Linked DNA regions of Homo sapiens: all the other regions are linked to region 5. The links are contacts of gene promoters, found by promoter capture Hi-C in blood cells and fetal thymus (Javierre and others, 2016). All regions are on one chromosome and are shown on one strand. Each heading gives the region's core, a stretch centred on a gene start or on the middle of the fragment in contact. The rest is flanking DNA. Distances are from core to core; before and after follow the strand shown.

Region 1 (3,976 bases), core at 1,475-3,974, 260 kb before region 5:
CAAAACTATTCTTTGTGGGATCGCTCTGATCTCTCTGTTAAGGTGAATGGGCCCTGTGGTGGCTGGTGACCTGGAGCACTCCAGGGGAAGGAAGGTGTTGAGTGGTCAGTCCCAGGGCCAAGTCCGCTGGTGGTGGCTCCCTCTGAACCAATAGGATCTTGAGGGGGTATATTGGTCTCTTTCAGGATGGGCTCCCAGATACGTCCTTCTTTGCCCCAGACTGCATCCACCCAAATCAGAAATTCCACTCCCAGCTGGCCAGAGCCCTTTGGACCAATATGGTAAAATAAGTGGGGTGTTCCTTGTTCTCTGGGGTTCTAGTCTAGGGCAGGGCACCAGCCCCTATAGAATGGAGTCTTGCAAGTGAGGCTGAGGGGGCAGTGGCTGGTACATCTATAAACGTCTATGCAGTTGGAAATGCGGAGTCCTTAAGAGTCTGCTCAGCCTGGGCTCAACTGCACCCTCTCCTCAGAGCTTTGAACTCTGAGGAGGGACCTCTCTACAGAAATGCAAGCCCAAAACCCCATATTCATTCCACTTTCCCTATGTGCCGGCCACCATGTTAGGCAGTTTAAGCCACGTTATCTCATTTAAGGCTCTGCATATCCCTGCTAGAGAAGCATGACGAGTCTCCAAGGAAGCTACTCCCAGAGAAGCAAAGCGACTGGCCCAAAACCCCACGGCTGGCAACTGGCAGAGCCAGAAGTGGGAGCCAAGCCCCCTGAAATCGAGTTCTGAGCTTTCCCCACTGCAGGATTCTGCCAGGGAATGTTCACTTCCATGGAAACAAACTACTACACCCGTGTCTCTCTTTTCTTCCCTGATCAGCTTGAACCACTTGGAAGCAAAACAGAGACCCTGGACCTGAGAGCAGAGATGCCCATCACCTGTCCCACTCAGGTAGTAGGGGAGGACCTGCCTGGCTCCTCTCCACAAACCAGGGCACACAGCTCGCCCTACCCACTTCGTCCTCCACCACAGCTTCCTCAGTACCCATCTTGCCCCCTTACTGAGGCCTGAGAGATTTGGAGGATGGAGGGGAGTCCATGAGGATGGACAGGGGAGGTGAGAGGGGAGACAAGAGTGCAGCTGTCATTGGGAACAGGAGATGCAGCAGGGAGAGGAGGCCTGGGCCCCAGCAGAGGGAGAGGATCCCGGTGAGAAAAGTGGGCTCCTGAGAGAGGAAATCAGGATGCCAGGAAAATGGCAGGAGGGCTTCTCTTAGCAGTGGTGTTTGGGGCAGATGAAAAAATCTGACTGCAGGTTAGAGGGCCCAGGCAGGAGCCAGGCAGGCTTAAGAGCTGTGGTTGGAGAGAGGAGAGCCTGGATTAGGGAGATTCCACAAGGAAAGGATCACAGAGGACAGCAGCAAAGGGCAGAGCCCAGAGCTGTATGGAGGAGGGACGAGGGTGGGCCTACCAGGACACGGCAGCTCCAGGCTCCTTTTAAGGAGGAATCCGTAAGTGGTTGTTAAGCTTGACTTCAGGCCTGGGGTGGGGGCAGGTTCTCATTGTCTTCAGCTCCTGTTTCTAGGCCCGGTCTTATGGCTTTTTAACCAAATAAGGCCAAGGCCAGAAAACCCTCAGCAGCAATAAAAGCAGAAGGCCTGACCCAATCTGGGAGGCTGGGTTTCCCTCCTAGGTCGGCCACACCACCCTCTCCCACCCTCCCTGCTGGGGAATGGACCTGCAGCTCCCCCATGTGTCTGCTGGGAATCCTGAGAGAGTGGGCACCCCTGTTCACATGCCTGCTCCCTGTCTGCTGCCTGCCCTACCCCAGTCTTGGGCTCAGGCTCAGTCTTGTGTGCCATCAGCCCCATCAGGAGAGCAAGAATGGCAGGAAGAAGGGATGGGAAGTGAAGACAGTCGTAGCAGAGGGCTCAGTTGCTGGGTCTTGTGCTTGGAGCTAAGGAGATTGTCAGATTCTGCAACAGCTAGTGCAACACAGATGCCTCTAGTCCAGGTGGTCAGGTGCTGGCCAAAGGCCTGGAGCAAAACCTTAGAGGCCCCTACTGTGCCAGGTGTAAACTCTTTAACTGCTTTCCTAAGGATGCCTGGGGGTTCTAGGGGAGCAGCCAGGGACCGTGGATAGTGGGGGCATTTGGGGACTCAGAAATAGCCATATTGTAGATATGTCAATATTTTACCAACCCTATAGCCATACTGAATATCAGCCATGGAGGGCCCTTTCCAAACTGTCCACTCCCCTTCCATTACATAACAAAAGCAGCCATCATTTGCTCTTTCTTTCAACAAACGTGTATTGAGTACTGAGTTGGAGCCTAAGCACTGGGTCAGGGAGAGCCCTGTCACCCTGGGCTTCGAGGCAACCACTTCCAGGCTTTACCCCAGATCAGGCAGAGACCCCCAAAAGGAGGCTGCTCCACCCAGCAGCATCTTAAGCTGAGTGGGCTCAGTGCCTCCCTTCTAGACAGAGCCCAATGGAGCCACTGCACTGATTTGCAGAGGTGAGCAGATCCAGCCTCGTGGAACCAGTAGAAGCCCAGCCCTGGTGAAGCTGTTGCTAAGCAACATTGGAGCCCATTCTGAAAGGGTCCATCTGTTGGCCAGCCCAACTTCACTGTGTTCTGAGCATTCTGCATTCCTCAGTCCCATCTGCTCCCTCCCATGTGCCTTGGAGTGATATAAAAGTCCACCAGCATCTCAGTGTGAGCTGACAGGGGCCAGGCAGCACCTATTTTTGTCCTAGATGTGTCTAAACATAGAGGCAACAGGCAACAGGCAAGACGCAGTGGGGGGCGGGAGGCAGGAGGCCGAGATGGCTGTGAGCATGAGCTTTCTCAGCCTCCTCCCTTCTCCCATCCGCAGTCTAACTGCTCATACGTTCTGTGTGCCAGGTAGGGTGACTTAACAGCACGCCATGGATTTCTGTTGTAGTTTCAAGTTGGACAAATTCTTTTACAGACAACTTTTGACTAGCCTTCTGTGGACTGAGCCTATACTCTGCCTTAATGGGCTCTCTGCCCACTCCTTTCCTAACCCCAGGGCAGCTGGCTGAACACCTGGTCCTTTTCTTAGGTTTCATTCTTTTTGACCTCTCTGAAGCCCTTGTCAAAAGTCACCACCTCCCCCTTGAAATTCACTCCTTCCTGGGTTTGTGGACACTAAATCGCCTTGATTTTTCTGGTCTTCTGTTTGCTTGCCTTTAATGACCCTCCTCCTCCCTTTCCCCAGTCTTGAAAATGTAGATATTCTCCAATTTTCATGTCTCCATTCTATTTTCTTTCCTTTTTCACTCACTTTTTGAAACAGGGTCTTGCTCCGTCTCCCAGGCTGGAAGTGCAGTGGCGCAATCACAGCTCTCTGCAGCTTTCAACTCCTAGGCTCAAGCCATCCTCCCACCTCAGCCTCCTGAGTAGTTGGGACTGCAGGCATGCACCACCATGCCCAGCTAATTTTGGTTTATTTGTTTTGGTAGAGGTGGGGTCTTGCCATTTTGCTCAGGCTGATTTTGAACTCTGGACTCAAGTGATCCATCAGCCTTGGCCTTCCAAAGAGCTGGGATTACAAGTGTGAGCAGCTGTGCCCGGCCTCTGTTTTCTTTTCTCTCTCTCCACATCCTCTCACTCTGAGACTTACCCATTTCCAGGATTTCCTGTAAAATTTCTTTGTGCTGGATTCCTCAGTCTCTCAATCTGTGTCTTCATTTCTCCTTTCCCGAACTCCAATCCTCTATTTCTGACCTTTAAAATACATTTCCCCTTGGATGCTCTATCTGGTATAAGGTTACCCAAAAGGCAGATTAATGTATGATCAAGCAGGAGGGGGCTGAAATAAGTTCATGTATCATACCCTATCTTTTCTTATGAGAAAAAGCCGAAGTTTATCAAATTCCCTTAAACTTAGTTTGTTGTTTAGCAGTGCTTCTGTATTGAATTACATATAAGTGACATTGTTATCTTTTTGACGCTCAGAGCTTCTAAATCCAATCCTGCCATGACCCCACCACCATCTCA
Region 2 (3,544 bases), core at 384-2,883, 260 kb after region 5:
TATAAAAAGAATACCCAAAAGATTCAAGATTCAAAGCACTTGATTAAATAGGATTACAGGTATTTAGTTATCCATTTAACCAAAGTGACAAAGATTTCAAAGGCAAATACAGAGAAAGCCATGTAGTTGTTAAAAAAAACAAAAACAAAAAAAAACAAAACCCCTTGACTTTTTGAGAGAGAAACTTAATCAAAGACAGCACGAAGCACATGAAATTATCTTGACAAAATACAGAATCTTTGCTTTCTAGGCAGACCATTCAAAAGTTAAAGAAAAACCTTTCACAATCTCCCATCAAGAGCAGGCCCATACTCCAAGAAAGTTTAGTCGTTTTAACAGGAGCTGAAATGCTAGTTATGCATTATTTTGATATGAATGATAATAGATTCATTCAATTTTAGCCAGCTTAATCACACAAGATTCTCTCTCCCTCTTCTGAACTTCCTATAGCCATTTTGGTTTTTTTCCTTCATTTTCTTTTTCAGCAAAAAACATATCTTCCTACTTCACATTTTTTCTTGACTGTCACGCTAGCATTCTGTAGATTGAGAAATCTATGTAAATACACCATAATTTCTAGAAGCACGTTTCCTTATATTATAATTTTTCAGTGTAGCACAGGACATGTTTACTAACACACCCAGGTATCTTTAGTTTCTCTGTCCAAAAGTAGATAAGCTTATGTTCAGCAATTAATGTTTCAGTATTTATCTTATGTGGACTTACATTGATTTAATTCACTTGTTTTGAACAATTATGCTTGGATTACTTACGAAAATTTCATGAGACATTAAATAGCTAAGCATCATCTTGTTTTTCTTGCTGAGAAATTTTGTAACTTAGAGATAGCAGAGGCTTATTTGTAATTCACTTGTCTAACATGAGCTTATTTGACTAGTAGACCTACATAGAATCAAAGTTGTACGTCTGCCTTATGTCTAATGCTGACAACTCTGAAGGCATATTGGTTTTTTAAACTAAACCAACAATGTTTTTGTTTATTGAAAATTACCCAAGTCACATGAACTTGAAAAGCATTTGGATTAGTTCCTATTTTTCTGAGAGTTTTCAGGAATACTTAATTTATATAAGCACTTGTTTTTACTTATGTCTATTGAACATACATAGCTATAAGATCTCTGTGTCTGTTTGTGTATACAGACAGACACAGAGATCTTATAGCTTTCATTTCCAAATTTTAGCCATGTGTCAATTAAAATAATACAAAGCTTATTGGTTTATAAAAGAAGCTGGATCCAAATTGTACCTGTGAGAGATGGAACAAGTCAAGGTTACCTGCTCAGATGGCTACAGCTTTTTAGTGAAGATTTTTTTTTTATTTGAGTGCTGTAGGGATGCTTTTAGAGAAGCTATTTTTGAGTCATTTTGTGTTCAGCAGCTTCTGCATACAAATCAAAGAATGCATTCCATTGTCTCCAAAAGGCTTAGGATACTCCTCCTTCAAGGGCACTCCCAAAGGCAGACTATCTTACCTAAATTAAAGGTTCTCCGAAGTGGTCACTGAAATTGCAAATTATTCTTTGTAAAGTTCACCTATTTTTTCTTGTGAACTTTGTAAAGTTCACAAGATTCTGATCCACAGTGTTTTTGGACCCCATCTTTGCATTAGATTCTCTGAAAGGTCTTAACTATTAAGGATTCTTTTTTCAGCAGCTGCTCTGGAACACAGGGAATCATGTGTTTCACCCTTCCCCCTTTTGAACAGAATAGGTTGACTTCCTGAGAAGTTTCAGCAAAGGTTGTTCAGCATAATTGGAGAGTTCTACACAGAAGGAGGAGAGCTCAGATTCAAAAGAGACTTACTCTAGAACTCCATGGCTGGGTGAGAGAGCAGCCAGTGCTGCGGCCCTGGGTACCAGCACCTAGTTACTGGCCTTGGGGCTTCACAGGGGTCTTCTTCTGATCCTGCTTCTGACATCAAAAACTGTCAAAAGAAAATTCAGGGTGCTTTTCTTAATATAAATATTAAGTTAGTAAAAAACTGCAAATAGGGAGACTTCCAAATCAAAAGTGGTAAGAAGCTTGTCTCACGAAGGTTATAGTAAGGTTTATAAAGCCTAGAAAAGGAAATTCATACAGCTTAATTCTCACTGGTTAGAATGAGTGGGTTAGTTTAGTCATTACTGATTTGCTGCAATGTGCTGAGTCATGCTGACCAAGAAATGAAGTTCAAGCTTCATGTGCAGTTTAAGTAGGTGTTTTGGAGAATAGGTCCTTACAGGTTTTCCTGAGCTGGGGGTGGGACTTTGGCTCAGAGGCCAAGGTTTGTCTTGGCTTCTATTTTGATTTTTGCCTAACAGGACCATTTTGTTGTCTAAGCTTACGAATGTTATCACATTTCAGTTCAATCTTTCTGATTCTCTTCTGATGGACTGCTGCTCTGCTTGTATATGTGTCTTTAGTTTGGTGCCTCTCATCTTTTAGTTATGCTGACTCTAGAAGTAAGAACTATGTGTACATAGTATAATTTTGGAAAATATATAAATGCAAAGAAGAAAGCAAAAACAAAAAAACCTCAATGAGTCCCACTACTTATGCATGCTGTTACAATCTGAGCTCAGTGGTGAGTTACCTCAGCAAGTAGAATAATAGAGGAAAGAAGATAGACTTTGGAGACAGACCTGGTTTTCTACCCCAGATTTGCCACTTACTAGCTGTGCGATGTTGAGCTGGTATTATTTAGTCTGAGCTTTGCTTTCCTCATGTGCAAAATGAGAATAATACCTGCCAGGTAAGGTGTTGGTGAGGATTTTTAAAGTATTTAGTAAGTGCTCAGCAAATGTTCATAATATTTTCCTTATTTAGATACTTCTGATTTTTTTTTAGCATCTAAAATATTTGTATCATTTGAACCTTGGTTTTATTGTTTATTATTTTCAATATATTTATTTGAAACTTTTAGTAAATTTAATTTGCATCTTTTTTTATTTCAGAATTTTCTTTCTTTGATCCTAATGATGCATCATGCCAGGAAATTCTTTTTGATCCCAAAACTTCAGTTTCAGAATTATTTGCCATTTTGAGACAGTGGGTTCCTCAGGTCCAACAAAACATTGACATTATTGGAAATGAGGTAAGGAATTCTTACATTTTAAGTTTTGCATTGTTAGGATTGTTAATGGTATAGATTTTTTTCCCCATCTGAAAGGAAGATGGTAATAAAGGAGAAACCCTTTAAAAGTTCTGATATTTATTTGTATTTCCAGGATTTTCATGGGGCAGTGAGTTAATACTATATATTCTTCTGATTATTTCTTCATGCTCTGTACTTCTGACATTTGTAGACTCCTGGCGGGTGCAGGGAGGGGCATTTTTCATATTTCCTTCTTTGTAAAATTAATTTTGTAAACTTTTATGCATTTCATAAAGGGATTTGATTACCATCATGTTCTATTTACACTTTTGGTTGGTTTGGTAAATATATAGGCTTGAATGTAGTCTTTAAGAATATTAGATTTTTTGAGGGAGGGTTCCTTGACCAGTATGTTGCTGTGTTGTAGGAAGAGAGTGCTTATACTTTTTT
Region 3 (3,405 bases), core at 211-2,710, 310 kb before region 5:
CTGGAGAGGAAAATGGAGAGAGAAGGTCTCACGCCTGGCTCTTAGATGCTACCATCTCGGGTCCTGATCTCCATCTCTCCATTGTCCGACCCACCCTGGCATTCAACAGCATTCCCTTCCCATCATGGTTTCCCACCTCCATTCTGGTCTCATCTTCCTCCCCCAATGCTGAGATGAAGGAGAGAGCAGGAAGTGGAGGGACCCCAGAGGGAGTGTGGGTGACAGGAGTGACCCACCCCAAGTCACACAGCTGGTCAGCGGTGGGGCAGGATTGGACAAGATCTCCAGACCATGGTGTAGAACTCCTCCAAGGATCCAGTGCTTTGTTTTGTCCATGTAGAAAAGCTAAGGGAAGGTACCAGGAAGAGAGGTGAAGAGATGATGAGACAGGGCAAGTGCTAATGGGGGCAGGGAGGTGGGGGAGGGTGGGAAGACGGGAGTCTGTGGAAGAGGCAGATAGGCCAGAGATGTTCCAAACCCACTTCTGCATCTGCCCCCGGGTGACATCCCAGACCCTGCAAAGCACTATCCATGAAAAGCAGAATCAGGCCCTTGAGAGCCTGGGGGCTGGGAGTCCCAGAGGTTCCTAGACACAGCTTCCATTCAACAGCCTCTCATCAGAGTCCAGCTGCTATTCTCTGGGCCAGTAGAATACAGGGTCTCCAGCTGAATCCTCCCCAAGAACAAGCAGACACCTCTCATGTCTATGGTCTATCACAATGATATCATCCACTCAGTGGGATGTATCTTCATGACAAAATCCTGTGAGGCATGACTTTCTTTAGATTCAACCAATAAAGGCTGGGCCCAGTGGCTCACATCTATAATCTCAGCACTTTAGAAGGCCAGGGTGGGAGGATCACTTGAGGCCAGGGGGTCAAGGTGAGCCTGGGCAATGTAGCAAGACCCAATCTCTACAAAAAAGAAAAGAAAAAAAATTAAGCATGGTGACACATGCCTATAGTCCCAGCTACTTGAAAGGCTGGGGCTGGAAGATCACTTGAGCTCAGGATTTCGAGGCTGCAATGAGCCACAATGGTGCAACTGCACTCCAGGCTGGACAACAGAGCAAGGCCCTGTCTCTAAATCAATAAGAAGGTGAATGAAGCTGGGCAAGGTGAAGTGCCTAAGGTCACACAGCTTGTAAGTGCTCGAGCCAGGATCACAAATCAGGGATCCTGACCCTAAGTCCAGGGCCCTATCCCTATGCTGTGGCAGCCTCCTCCGTGGCCCCTCAGCCACTCTTTACCCCAAAGACCTGACTGCTCATAACCTCCCAGGAAGGACTGGCAGGCTGGGCCTTAGCAGCTTCATACACTGCTTATCCCAACCTCTTCCTGCCCGGCGGGGCCTGACATCACCTGCTCCCAATTCCCTGGTCTCCTTGAAGATACTCTCAGGACAAGGGGTCATCACATCTCGGCACAGCTGCTCAGGGGTTCCTAGGGAGGCAGCACTTTGGGTGTGAACCTGCCTGGCAGGTAGCAAAGGAACTGGGCACCAGAGAGCAGGGATCACACCTGGGGGGCCTCTCATGGAGGCCAGCCTTCACCCCCAACTGCCTGGGAGGCCAGTCTCAGCATGCCCTTCAAAATGCTCAGAAGCAAAGTGCTTTAGGCAAGGGACACGCACCTGGAGAGTGTCCACATTGTGCTTTCTTCAGCTGATGACGGCTACGTGGGATTTCATTTTATTACTACATTTTAAACTGCATAGGTGAGATATATTGGTATAAAAGGATAATGATGTATTTCCTTTTATGATATACTTCACAACTTTAAAAAAATGAGAAAAACAGGACCCTGAAATGTATCCTTTTGAAAAGGTACAGTCTAATTTCAAGAGCACTTTTGCTGGACGAGTTTTACTTGGTCTTGGCCTAGGCAGGGTTTCTTAGAATGAAGCAGAGCTGGGAGTAGCACCAGGCATTCCCAGTGGGCACTCTCACTCATCTCTGAAAAGGCAGGATACATATGGAGACATGGTGCCATCTAGACCCTAGATCCCAGAGAGTGCCCAGGTGGTCCTGGCCAGCATAAGAACATAGACCTTTTGGCAGGTAGGCAGAGGTGGGCCACTGGGGAAAGCAGAGAAACTCACCCCCTCATTGTTCCCTCTCAGGCAGGCAATGGGGCCGGGTCCACACCTGGGAACGTCTTGGACGTCTTGACTCAGTACCGAGGCCTGTCCTGGAGGTGAGTGAGGGTGTGGCAAGGCCCCAAAGGCCCCTTCATTGCAGAGCAAGGGAAGCCCCCTGAGTGTTCTAGAAAACAACGCCTTAAGCAGAAGGGTGGGCCATTTTGTTCTTTTCTATGACCAACTTCTAGGTTTAATTTGAAAAAGGTATTCACCAGCCTCCTCAAACCACTACATTGCCCAAAACAGTAGCTGAGCCTTGAGCCAGGAATCCAGGAGAGAAACTACATAAATGTTTGGGCTGGAAATGCTTCTCTGGCTTCCATTTCTCCCTCTGTGATATAATCTCAGAAGGAGGCAGTGGCCTGAGTGATGCACAGATCATTGCCTTTGGAACCAGAGTTGTAGCTGAGCCCTAGCTGCCCAGTTGGATGTAACCTTGGGCAAGTTCCCTAACCTCTCTGAGCTTCTCTCCTCATCTCTGATGCAGAAATAATGCTACTACCTGAGCACTGTCTGAGGGCTAGAAAGAATTTAGGTGTCCAGCACAGTGCTTGACACTAAGTATCTGGTAGTTGGCATTGTTATTATAGGGCCTTTATTTTGCAGATGAGGAAACAAGGCTCAGAGAGGGCAAGTAACCTGACCAAGATCACAGAGCCAGAAGATAAAAGATCAGGAAGCAGAGCAGATGCTTCCTGGCCCCCACCAGTGCATTCCCTTATCCTGTATCACTTTGGGCAGGCTTATTTCTGCTCTGTATGTGATCAAACCTCTGCTGCAAGCCCGGGCAGGTTTGGTGTTTCCTCACCTGGAATCTGGCATCTCTATCTGACACCTGCTTTAACCTGAGTGCCGAGTCTCTGGCATCCTTCCTCACGTTGCAACACAGTTAAACCCAAACATTTGGGGAACCTTTTAGATGCTCCTAGACACCCTTGGCACAGAATGGGGTGGGGGGGTGTGGAAAAGCAGGGAATCCAATCCACTCTGGAATGCTGCATATTTGCATGCCTAGAAACCCTTCTAACTTTGATCACCTTGGAATTTTATTATTGGCTTGGAAGATGGCTGACTCTCTAGAAGACACCTTTTAAAAACGGCTTTTCCAAGCCAAGCAGGAAGAGAAGAGAGAAAAAAATAGGGCCAATAATATTAATGCACGCTGCAGTGGCTAGTTGGAAAGGGGCTGGCAGACGAGGGACTACTTCCCCTTTGAAAGCAGGGGTGCAAGGAACCAACCTACCTCCCCTTCCCCAACATCAGCGA
Region 4 (3,664 bases), core at 969-3,468, 290 kb before region 5:
GGGCTGGTGTCCAGGCTGGGGCCCCAAAGACAAACACTATTTCAATATTGCCCACTGTGACTGAATACAGAAAGAAGGGGACTCTGGCCAGGTGCGGTGGCTCATACCTGTAATCCCAGCACTTTGGGAGGCTGAGGTGGATGGATCACTTGAGCCCAGGACCAGCCTGGGCAACATGGGGAAACCCCATCTCTACCAAAAAATACAAAAATTAGCCAGGTGTGGTGGCACGCACCCATGGTCCCAGTTACTTGGGAGGCTGAGGTGGGAGGATTGCTTGAGCCCAGGAGGTGAAGGTTGCAGTGAGCCATGATCACACCACTGCACTCCAGCCCGGGAGACAGAGTGAGATCCTATCTCAAAAAAAGAAAAAAAAAAAAGAAGGGGACCCAAGAGAGAAAGTAGCCCTGTTCTGTAGAGAGATTAGGTGACAAATGGTGTTCAAGGGACACTTCCTCTTCCTGCAGGTCCACTATTCTCCCCAGAACTTCACAGACAACATTGGAAAGGCCCTGGACATCCTCCATGCTGAGGTACGGAGGCTAGGCCATGAGGCCTGCATCTTAGACCTCAGACCTAGCCTAGAGGAAGCTCTGGCATCCTGCTGAGACCTCCTTGGCAGGTCACCTTTGTTGTGGATCCCAGCCCAAATGCATAGAGGGGGAGCAGGGACGGGTGGAGGAAGTGGATGGGGGCAGATGGAAGTCCCTAGATCTGAAACTTCAGCAGGAGGAGCAGGCCCCAAACCGAGGTGAAAGGCTGCCCAGCCTCATCCTCTTGGTGACTGAGTTTGCCTTTTCTCAGGTTCCTCGGGCATTTGTGAACCTGGTGACGGTGCTTGAGATCGTCAACCTGAGGGAGCTGTACCAGGAGAAAAAAGTCTACTGCCCAAGGATGATCCTCAGGTCAGACAGATACTTCTCCCCGATTCTACTAAGAATCCTCACTGCTAAGGGCAGTGGCACCCTTAGCAAATTCCTTAGAAAACCCAAGGGCCGAAGTGTGAAAGGGCTGTGACCACCCCATCTTCTAACCTGGAAAAGCCTAAGGGGAGGATATCCTAGGATTTTTCCACCCTGGTGTAGGCCTCAGCCCACCTCAGGGTGTGCATGGGGAACTACCCCTGCACCCCGCCTCTGTTGCCATGGCAGCCACAAGGCACCCTCCAGGCCTCCAGAGGGAAGAGTAAAACGCTAGGAATGGAGTCAAGCTGTGTGTCTGAGGCCCGGGGACCGCCCAGGCCACTGCTGGGACCTACTTCCAAGTGTGTCCAGAGCTGATCTGCCCCCTCCTAGAGGCCCATCTCTAGGACAGGGGTGCCTCTGGTTGGTATGGGTGTTCCATGTAAAGCATTCACAGATATAGGGCCACTGTCACCTGCCAGAGAAGGAGGTCAAACCAGAATTAGCAGGGTCCAGAGGACAGAGTCCTCCCCAGAGAGTAGAGAACCCTGGTCCTGAGAAGGTGCCTGAGAGGACGTCTTCACCCCTCAGCCTCCAGAGCCAGACAGAGCTGGCTTCCCCTTCTAATACAGGCTGAGCATCCCTCATCCGAAAATCTGAAATCTGAAATGCTCCAAAATCCAAAACTTTTTTTTTTTTTTGAGACAGGGTCTCGCTCTGTTGCCTAGGCTGGAGTGCAGTGGCATGATCTTGGCTCACTGCAGTCTCCGCCTCCCAGGTTCAAGCAATTCTCCCACCTCAGCCTCCTTAGTAGCTGGGATTACAGGCACACCACCATGCCCAGCTAATTTTTGTATTTTTAGTAGAGACGGAGTTTTATCATGTTGGCCAAGCTGGTCCCGAACTGCTGACCTCAGGTGATCCACCCTCCTCGGCCTCCCAAAGTGCTGGGATTACAGGCGTGAAGCCACCATGCCTGGCCCCGAATCCAAAACTTTTAAAGTGCTGACATGACACCACAAGGGGAAAATTCCACACCTGACTTCATGTGACAGGTTGTAGTGAAAACACAGGTGCACAGCACGCAGTTTATTCAGCATCCCCAAAAAGCCTCCTTCAGCTGCGATGCACTCTCTTTTCTGGGCATGCCCAGATCCTGCGGCTCAAGCATGCCCACAAAGGGTAGCAAAATGGCACATGTGCAGGCCGGATGCTCCAACAACAGGTTCCCCATAATGGCTCATGTGGGGCTAAGACCTGCGTGCATTACTCACCTAGTTTTTGCTCATTCTCTGTGTGGTAAAGATGTGGCTTAAAACGATAGCCATAGGGTAATGCAAATATTCCAAAAAAAAAAAAATCTGAAATCTGAAATGCTTCTGGCTCAAAGCATTTCAGATAAGGGAGACCCAGCCTGTATCACACATCTCCAGGACCGTCAGGAATAAGACGTTCCTCTAAGTGAAGCATGAACGTTTTCCGCAGCCTTCCTTCCTGCAGGTTTTCCTCTGGACTGTTAGCCAAGGTCACTGAGACTGTGCTCCCCTACCCTGCCCCCCAGCTCTGTTACTCGGTACAGGTCCCCACCCCAGCCCTGAGCACATCACATGGTAATTACTCATGTGCCTCCCTCCCCCACAGCCTGTGAACTCAGCCTGAGTCACTGCTAGCATGGTGTAGGGGCTCAGCTGCTGTTTGCTGAATGACTGAATAATTCACAAGGGCCAGACTTGCTCTTGGAAGTTAAGGGGTACCTTTCCTGCTCCTCTGCAGATCCATGCCATGCCTCACCTGGGGGACCCAAACCGCACAGGTCCCCTGGAGAAGGCCTCACGGTGCTGTGAGCAGAGACAGGATGGTTGCTTGGGTGACATGTTCCTATGAACGCAGCTGGTGTCAGGCATGCTATTTCCAACTGCTGACTCATCCGCTGGCTCACACTTTCTCCAGTCACTGGGCCACACAGGGGATCGGTGTCTTCACTCCATTTCAGAGCAGTTTACCAGAAAGCCTCTTGCTACCCATCTTGGCAGGGTTTTTTAGACCATTCAAACTCAAGGTTCAAAATAGGCATTTGCCAGGCCCATTCACAGATCTGAGATGGCCAAGTCACTGAATGTCAAGGTTGGATAGACTCAGGTCACCTTCTCCTGCCACCTCTGCAGTGCCCTGCACTCCCCGCCTCTCCACTGTTTCATCGGGTGGCTGTGCTTTCCTCTGCAGTGCTGAGTCTACACGGAGCCATCCCTGCTGTTATCACCTCATCCCCCTGGACCAAAAGCCCAGATGTGCCAGATAGCTGGCCGGGTCAGAGCTGCAGATTGGATGGAAGCAGTTTAACATAGAGATTAAGAGCTCAGGTTCAGAGCCAGGCAGACTTGAGTTCAAGTCCTAGCTCCCACACTCAGCACCCATGCAACCTTGAGAAAGTTACTCAACCACCCTGAGCCTGGGTTTCCTCATCTCTAAAACAGGGATAATGAGAATACCACTTCTAGAATGGCTGGGAGGACTAAACAGGTTAATACCCATAAAGTTTTTATTGCAGTGCTTGGTACAGTGTTCAATGTTAATTATTCAATAATAATTGCTAAGATACACTCAAATCAATGTATCTTAGCAATTATTATTGTTGTCACTGCAGTATGCCTCATCGGCACAGCACTTTCCTCAGACAGCCGTAAGGTGACTCGTCTCCATAAAAGTCACTCCTACAGAAATCAGAAGAAGTCTATTTCATTTTCAAGAGCAAATCCAGGTCT
Region 5 (3,600 bases), core at 428-2,927:
GAGGAGGAGTTGTGTTACACAGGAACATTCTACTCAAGGACTGTGACTAAGGATTGAAATAATCTGCTAGCAATAGATGATTAGCATAAGCTTCAAACTAGGGCTGGGCGCGGTGGCTCCCGCCTGTAATCCCAGCACTGGGAGGCCGAGGTGGGCGGATCACTTGAGGCCACGAGTTGAAGACCAGCCTGGGCAATAAGGCGAAACCCCGTCTCTACAAAAATTAGCCCGGGGTGGTGGTGCATGCCTGTAGTCCCAGGTACTCAGGAGGCTGTGGTGGGAGAATCGCTTGAACCCGGGAGGCAGAGGTTGCAGGGAGCCAAGATCGCAACACTGCACTCCAGCCTGGATGACAGAGTGAGAACTTGTCTTAAAAAAAAGACTGAAACTAGGCTTTAGGCAGTTAACTTTTTAATAAAGAATAGTCATTTTATGTTTGGTGTTGAATGTTAGCTATTGTAATATAAAACTCTATTTCTTCCCTAAAAGGGGAAAAGCACCGTAATGTACCTATTGTTAATATACTCTTGTAACATGATTATTGAATATTAAAATATCATCATAGTAGTACTAAAAAATTGTTCCCTAAGAGTTCAACATTCTCTTGAGTCCTGAAGTTATAAACTTAAGAGTAATGGGGAACAAAATTAGTACTTATTATGTACGTAGTGAGTTCACATCACCCTAACAGAAAGTTGAGCTATTATCCACATTTTACAAATAAGGGACTCGAGACTCCTAAGTTAAAATTAAAATCTAGCCGTTCCCTAATGCTAATTTTCATCATGATATGTAAAAGTTATAACCATTGGTTTATTTTAAAAGCCTGAGTACAATAAAAAATCCAAACGTTCTGAGATGTCTTTGAATACATTAATCAGGACTGAGTACTGCATCTGTCTTTGCCCCTCCTGAAACCAATACACACCTTATCTCCATCGCATTACCTTTGGGAATGTTATGGCAGTCCCTCTTTTCATCAATACTACATAGTCTTCCAAGGCTGGCCTCCTCAGCATGTACTGCTTACCGAAGGAACTCCTCAGTATCTGGCCGGGGAACTTCCCCACGATCTTGCCGAACGGGACTGCCCCCCAGTTACTATTTAAGAGTCCGAAGTTGTTCAACCTAAATAATTTCTTAAATTTTGTTTCTCCCTCCCCAGTCTCAGCTAAAATCAGTTCCCCAGCCTGAAAGGGTCTCTCTCTGGAAGTTGAACAAGAAGGGGAGACGTGACGCTCTTCGACCTCGGTAGCGGACTGGGCCTGCGAGAGCATCGAAGGATCCTCGGATCCCTGGTGTGTGGGACCGCACCGGCCCTGGTCTCCGCTCGAGTCCTCGAGCTCTCGAGGGGATGACTCTTCCCGCAGCGTCGGCAGTCTGAGGTTTTCCAGTGACGAAAGACATCCAGTCCCAATGTCCGAGATGCTCAGAGGGAGAGATGGGCAAGACTCTGCTCCTGGGGCTTTCCTTTGTGCCGCCTCGTGCTCTCTTTCTCCATCTCGCAGGTCTCTAGGCGAGGACCTGCAACACAGTGACCGAGCTCCCTCGAAGGGCTCCTGCCCCAGGCCGTGCAGGAATGAATTGGTTCCGAGCCCCTGCCGCAGGCACAGCAAGACAGGACCGCGGCACCATGCCATTAGCATAGTGTTTCGCGAAGGCGCCGTCGCAGACGAGTGACGCAAGCCTAGCGCGACCCCTTCTTTCCCAGTCGCGCGCATGGCGCAGCAGCCCGATGGCTCTGCAGCTGCGTGGGGCTCTACAGCTCCGCGACTGCGCCTGCGTCGGGGAGGGGGCGGTGCGCTAGGTCAAGCTAGGGCGCGGGAGCAGCGGAGTCCTGGTTGAGTGACCATCCAAGGAATATGTCCTCGCGCGCGGCCGCCGTTTTCCTTTTCGGAATGTGGGTAAAGAATTTACCGCTAACAGACGACCTCCAGGTTCGCTCTTGGACAGCAAGATTGAGAGACAAAACTTAACAAAGCGCTGTGCAAACTGAAATCCCAGGCTTAGCTCGCTTGTGTCTTGAACACGGAAGTCACCTAGTCACCCACAAGATGTATGAGTACAGCTAACCCCCAGATGCATTTGACAGACGGCGTGGGACGCGCCACTTGCTGATTGGCTCTCCTTTCCCAGTTGACCGCGACATCCCCCAGCCCCAACTCCCTTTTGATGGGGCTGTGACCACCTGCCGGTCCCCTCACCCACCCCTCACGCCCGGAGAGTCCGAGGTTGATTCGAGTACTCACTATGTGCTTATGTAACACATGTTTTCATTATTAAAATATAACTAGTTTACCCTCCCAAAACGAAATAGAAGTGTCTTAAAATGGAAACAGGTATCTTTGGAGGCCAGAGTTATTTAGCGTTAAATATCACTAGCCTCCCAGCATTTTGGGAAGCCGACCGAGGCAAGCGGCTCATTTGAGGTCAGGAGTTCGGGACCAGCCTGGCAAATGTGGTGAAACCCCGTCTCTACTAAAAATACAAAAATTAGCTGGGCGTGGAGGCACGCACCTGTAATCCCAGCTACTCGGGAGGCTGAGGCAGGAGAAGCGCTTGAACCCGGGAGGCAGACGTTGCAGTGAGCTGAGATCTCGGCACTGCACTCCAGCCTGGGCGACTGAGCAAAACTCCTCTCGGGGGAAAAAAATTAGTCGGGCGCGATGGTGCACGCCTGTAATACCAGCTACAAGGGAGGCTGAGGCATGAGAATAGCTTGAACCCAGGAGGCGGAGGTTGCAGCGGGCCAAGATCGAGCTACCACTGCACTCCAGCCTGCGCGACACAGCAAAACTCTGTCTCAAAAAAAAAAGAAAAATCGCTAGCCTCTTTGCTGGATATTAGTTGACTGGGCAAAAGTTTATTGAGAGTCTGGCAATACGAGGCACGTTAGACACTCATTTAAGTTTCCAACAATTCTGTGTTAGAAACAAATCCATTTTATGAGTAAAAGAACTGGCCCAGGGAGATTAAATAATTTGGGGAAACCAGGAGTGGTGGCTCACACCTGTAACCCCAACACTTTGGGAGACCCAGGCCAGAGGATTGCTTGAGCCCAGGATTTCAAGACCCACGTGCAACATAATAATAATAAGTTGGTCAAGATGCATAGCTGACAAGTGGCATTGCAGAGTTTCCTATTTAGTCAGTCTGGTTCAGCAGCCCATGCTCTTTGTACTGTAACACCGTTTGGAAAGACTGGTCAACAGCACAGTTGAACTTAAAGTCCAAGTATATTCAAAGGGCTGTGAAGTCAATGTGAATTCTGTTTAAATTTGATGAAATAAATCTTGTTATTCTTTTTTTTTTTTTTTATTTGAGACAGAGTCTTGCTCTTGTTGCCCAGGCTGGAGTGCAATGACACGATCTTGGCTCACTGCAACCTCTGCCTCCTGGGTTCAAGCGATTCTCCTGCCTCAGCCTCCCGAGTAGCTGGGGTTACAGGCACCTGCCACCATGCCAGGCTAATTTTTGTATTTTTAGTAGAGACTCGGTTTCACCATGTTGGCCAGGCTGGTCTCGAACTCCTGACCTCATGATCCACCCGCCTCGGCCTCCCAAAGTGCTGGGATTACAGGCATGAGCCACCGCGCCTGG
Region 6 (3,802 bases), core at 10-2,509, 330 kb after region 5:
TTGCCAGCACTGAGTCATTATCCGGTATCTAAAAGAAGAAGCACATTAATTAAAATAAGGAGAAGCACAATGATGAAAAATATATTTTCTTCCAGCCCCAGGGTTGCAACGAATACGTTGAGGGTGCGAACTCGTCTAGGCCCCGTGTACTTGGCCTATGCTGCCCCCTGCTGATTGGTCAAGGAAGAGTGCGCAGGTGTAAAGGTATCTAACACAGACATCCTGATGTTTATGTTAACCACGGCTGCTGTCACTCCATTCCTGAGTTAAAGCCACTTTGGGGACAGAATATTCCAATTATATTTCCCATCCACGTTGCTTGTGGGAAGGAAGTGAGGGGTGCCAGGCAGGGCAGGAGACATTGCAGGGAATGGAAATCTTTAAAGTAGACACAGACATACGGTGTAGGGCAGCAGGGACTGGGCCTGGGACACACATTCCCAGCAGGAGCTTGGGGAATGTAGGCCTGGTGAGTCCACAGCCTGTAGCCAGACAATGGATACTTTTTCTGGGATGGCATCCTTGCTTTTGAGGGCCTGGGAGACGCATCCATCTCACTGAAGTCGCAGTCACATTCGCATCTTGGGGCATATTAAAGGGAGGGCAGCCATCTGCCCCTTCATCTTAAAGAAGCATATGTGGCTCTGGATATTTTTTGAAAAGAAAAACTGCTTAGTAACTAGCAGAAGTGTTCCTAAAAGAGTCATACACAGGCCCAGGGCAGTTCTTGGGTGGGTCCATCCGGCCTCCACTGGTGACAAACTCCAGAACTTCCTGGTTGCTTTTGCTGGGGTATGGCATATATCCAAGAGAAAAGATTTCCCATAGCAGCACTCCAAAGGACCTGGGCATGGGACAGAGGACATGGAGATGGATATAGACACACCCACCCACATTCACACACACACACAGGCACACAGACATACAATTTCAACCTTTTTTTCCCCCATTATACCCTTTTCCATAACATAGAACTCTTAAAATGTAGAAAAATTTAAAAAATAAGAAAATACTACACATGATGCTCCCTTAAAAGACAACCCCTGTTGATTTTTAAGTCGTTTCTGTGCTGAGATTTTTTTTCACTTATTTGCAGTTATATTCAATATGCAATTTTGAACCTTGACTTTTCTGCACATTTCATTATATCATAAACATTTTCCATGCCAGTCCATTTCATAAATAACATTTGGAATGGCTAATGGCTGTAAAACATTCCATTGAGTAGTTGGTTTGCCTTATCATTTCCACATTGTTTTCAGTTTTCAAAATATTTAAAATACTATAATGAACATCTTTGTGCATTTTTTAAAAGGAAGATTTCCTTAAGATAAAGTCTCTGAATTACTAGATTAGGATGTCCAGCCAGCTGATTTCATAGTCTCTTACAGTTCTCTGAGCTTCAGTTTCATCTATCAGATGCCCACTCATCAACTTCACTGGCCTATTTTAATAGGCAACTCAAATTTAACATGCCCAAATGGAACTCTTTCTGTACACACATCATCTCCTTTATTCTTTTCCAACTCATCAGCACCTCTGGTTATACATTTGCTCAAGCCCAAAACCTAGGAGTCATCCTTGATTCCATTCTCCCACACCCCTCCACTTCCCATCCAACAGTCAGCAGTCCTATAACTTTCAAGATAGATCTTGAATCCAGATAGGATAATCTAGTAATTCAGGGTAATTACTGAATTAAAATGTAGGCTAATTCTAGTAAAATAACTAGATCAAAAGACTATGAATATTGACAAATTCTTGGTGCATATTATTTGGTTTCCAAATGTGTTACTCTGTTCATCTACCAGCACCATGTAAAAGCGTGGTAGACACACTCACCAGCATTGAGTATTCTTAATAATAATGACAACTTTTGCTGATTTTAAGGGAAAAAATGGTAGAATATTTTAAATTATGTTTATTGACTTGATAATTCACATGGTTGGATGTTTTCCCAAGTGTTTATTAATTCATTTCACTTTTTTTTCCTATGAATTGCCCATTTTTATCTGCTGGGACAAATTGGTATCTATCAATCAATTTTCTTTTTGATTTGTAGGCACTCTTTATATGTCAGAGATGTTAACCTTTTATAAAAAATTCAAATACTTTTATTAGTTGTTTTCTTTTTTTTTTTTTATGTAGTCTCACTCTGTTACTCAGGCTGGAGTGCAGTGGTGCCATCTTGGCTCACTGCAACCTCCACCTTCCAGGTTCAAGTGATTCGCCTGCCTCAGCCTCCCAAGTAGCTGGGATTACAGGCGCCCACCACAACACCTGGCTAATTTTTGTATTTTTAGTAGAGACAGGGTTTCGTCATGTTGGCCAGGCTGGTCTTGAACTCCTGATCTCAGGTGATCCACCCACCTCGGCCTCCCAAAGTGCTGGGATTACAGATGTGAAACACCGCACCTGGCCTTAGTTGCTTTCTAATGCTACTTTTTAGCATACCAAAGAAAGATTTTTATTTTTAGATAGTCAAACCTATTTTTTTAATGTCATGATTTCCTTTATTTTATAGTTATACAATCTTCCCTTCACCAAAGATTAGATAAATATTTGCTATCTTCTTCTAGTTGTGTTTGTTTTTGCTCTCTTCTTAAATCTAGTTGGAATTTAATTTGGTGTCTAGTGTGAGGTAAGGACCTAAATTGATTTGCTTTTCAAATAACTACTCTTCCAACACTATGCATAAGATAATTTCCTCCTTACCCATTGACTCACGATTAAAAACAGGTCTGTTTCTGGCTATATTTTCACTTCATCTATTTGTCTGCTTCTTGCATTGATACCATTCTATTTTACTTTCTGTGTATTTGTCTTAAATCTGAAAAGGCATTTTTCTCTATTTCTCTTTAAAAAATATTTGATTTCTCATTTGTTTTTTTAAAAGCTTTATGAGATGAATTCTTCGTGTTCTAAAAGAATCACCTTTGATATTTTGATTAAAACTTTAAACCACTACCTAATGATCAGCTTTTTGACAAAGACTATCTTTTAGTGTGATTGTAGTTTTCTGAGGTTAGCAAATATTACCACAAAAATTGTAGAGAACAATAGTTCCTTCATCTTCTAAGAAACATGGGGTGCTTTTATTGTCATCATCTGTGTGAAATTTCAAAGACTCTTGTGAGAAGGATTGGGCAAAGATATTTTCCCTATTTTTCAGGTGAGAAGGTTGAAGCACAGGTTATTATACAACTAATCCGAGACAGACTGGAATACATTATTAGATCTCTTGATTTTGCTACTTACAAATTGCCTGGCACATATATTATTCCTTTCTGTTTGGAGATCTCTTGATTTTGCTACTTACAAATTGCCTGGCACATATATTATTCCTTTCTGTTTGGTGATCTTACTTCCCTTCAAGGCAAAACTAACTAGGCAAAATCAAATGAACAAGAAACTGGCAGTAAGGCCTAAAGAATTATAGCTATATGTTTTCTGTTTTTCTAGATAGATATAGGTTATAGCATCCTTTGAGAGCACTAATAGAACTGCACATGAATATTTATTTTCTTAGTTTAGAGTTCAAGGGAGCAAGAAGTAGTATTGGTCATAGAACTTTGACAATTTTGAATAAGTAGGATTTTCATATTTGCAAACAATACCAGATACCTAGTTAAATTTGAGTTCCAGATAAGCAACACATAGTTTTTTTAGTATATGTATGCTCCAATATTTATACTAAAAAACTATTTGCTGTGCATCTGAAATTCAATTTCACTGACCATTTTGTATTTTATCTAGAAACCCTACAGATGAGGCAAATCTATATTTTGTATGCCAGATGGTT

Evidence for each region. The method cuts DNA at HindIII sites, captures the fragments that hold promoters and counts their contacts. A CHiCAGO score of 5 or more calls a contact.
Region 1: a fragment that was not itself captured here is called in contact with the fragment with the promoter of TRMT61B in region 5 in 1 of 17 cell types (total B cells); the score reaches 5.3 in total B cells.
Region 2: a contact is called between a fragment that was not itself captured here and the fragment with the promoter of TRMT61B in region 5, in 1 of 17 cell types (total CD8 T cells). The highest score is 5.0, in total CD8 T cells.
Region 3: a contact is called between a fragment that was not itself captured here and the fragment with the promoter of TRMT61B in region 5, in 4 of 17 cell types (naive CD4 T cells, total CD4 T cells, naive CD8 T cells and 1 more). The highest score is 9.0, in naive CD4 T cells.
Region 4: a fragment that was not itself captured here is called in contact with the fragment with the promoter of TRMT61B in region 5 in 2 of 17 cell types (activated CD4 T cells and naive CD4 T cells); the score reaches 5.3 in activated CD4 T cells.
Region 6: a fragment that was not itself captured here is called in contact with the fragment with the promoter of TRMT61B in region 5 in 1 of 17 cell types (activated CD4 T cells); the score reaches 5.0 in activated CD4 T cells.

Annotation. Positions count from the first base shown.
Region 1 is chr2:28,605,668-28,609,643 of GRCh38, forward strand. It overlaps PLB1 (phospholipase B1), which reads left to right. Exons shown (of 58, transcript NM_153021.5): 42 at 186-281; 43 at 829-900. Among named protein-coding and RNA genes, the nearest start is that of PLB1, 110 kb to the left of the region's middle. RefSeq lists enhancers at 610-1,241, 1,242-1,872, 1,873-2,504 and a silencer at 1,719-1,886. The HindIII fragment of the contact is 2,503 bases long and covers 1,474-3,976 here.
Region 2 is chr2:29,128,304-29,131,847 of GRCh38, forward strand. CLIP4 (CAP-Gly domain containing linker protein family member 4) reads left to right here. Exons shown (of 16, transcript NM_024692.6): 3 at 2,955-3,094. LOC124907747 (a long non-coding RNA gene) reads right to left here and starts at 2,045. Exons shown (of 2, transcript XR_007086264.1): 1 at 1,825-2,045. The HindIII fragment of the contact is 813 bases long and covers 1,228-2,040 here.
Region 3 is chr2:28,563,159-28,566,563 of GRCh38, forward strand. It overlaps PLB1 (phospholipase B1), which reads left to right. Exons shown (of 58, transcript NM_153021.5): 19 at 2,122-2,195. Among named protein-coding and RNA genes, the nearest start is that of PLB1, 69 kb to the left of the region's middle. The HindIII fragment of the contact is 8,202 bases long and covers 1-3,405 here.
Region 4 is chr2:28,581,601-28,585,264 of GRCh38, forward strand. It overlaps PLB1 (phospholipase B1), which reads left to right. Exons shown (of 58, transcript NM_153021.5): 24 at 468-533; 25 at 805-905. Among named protein-coding and RNA genes, the nearest start is that of PLB1, 87 kb to the left of the region's middle. RefSeq lists an enhancer at 2,865-2,924. The HindIII fragment of the contact is 5,337 bases long and covers 1-3,664 here.
Region 5 is chr2:28,868,632-28,872,231 of GRCh38, forward strand. It overlaps TRMT61B (tRNA methyltransferase 61B), which reads right to left and starts at 1,678. Exons shown (of 7, transcript NM_017910.4): 1 at 948-1,678. The coding sequence starts at 1,646. RefSeq lists enhancers at 1-187, 188-702, 1,332-1,856, 1,471-1,640, 1,871-2,020. The HindIII fragment of the contact is 7,170 bases long and covers 89-3,600 here.
Region 6 is chr2:29,196,833-29,200,634 of GRCh38, forward strand. It overlaps ALK (ALK receptor tyrosine kinase), which reads right to left. Exons shown (of 29, transcript NM_004304.5): 27 at 710-844; 28 at 1-28. Among named protein-coding and RNA genes, the nearest start is that of CLIP4, 83 kb to the left of the region's middle. The HindIII fragment of the contact is 3,270 bases long and covers 1-2,894 here.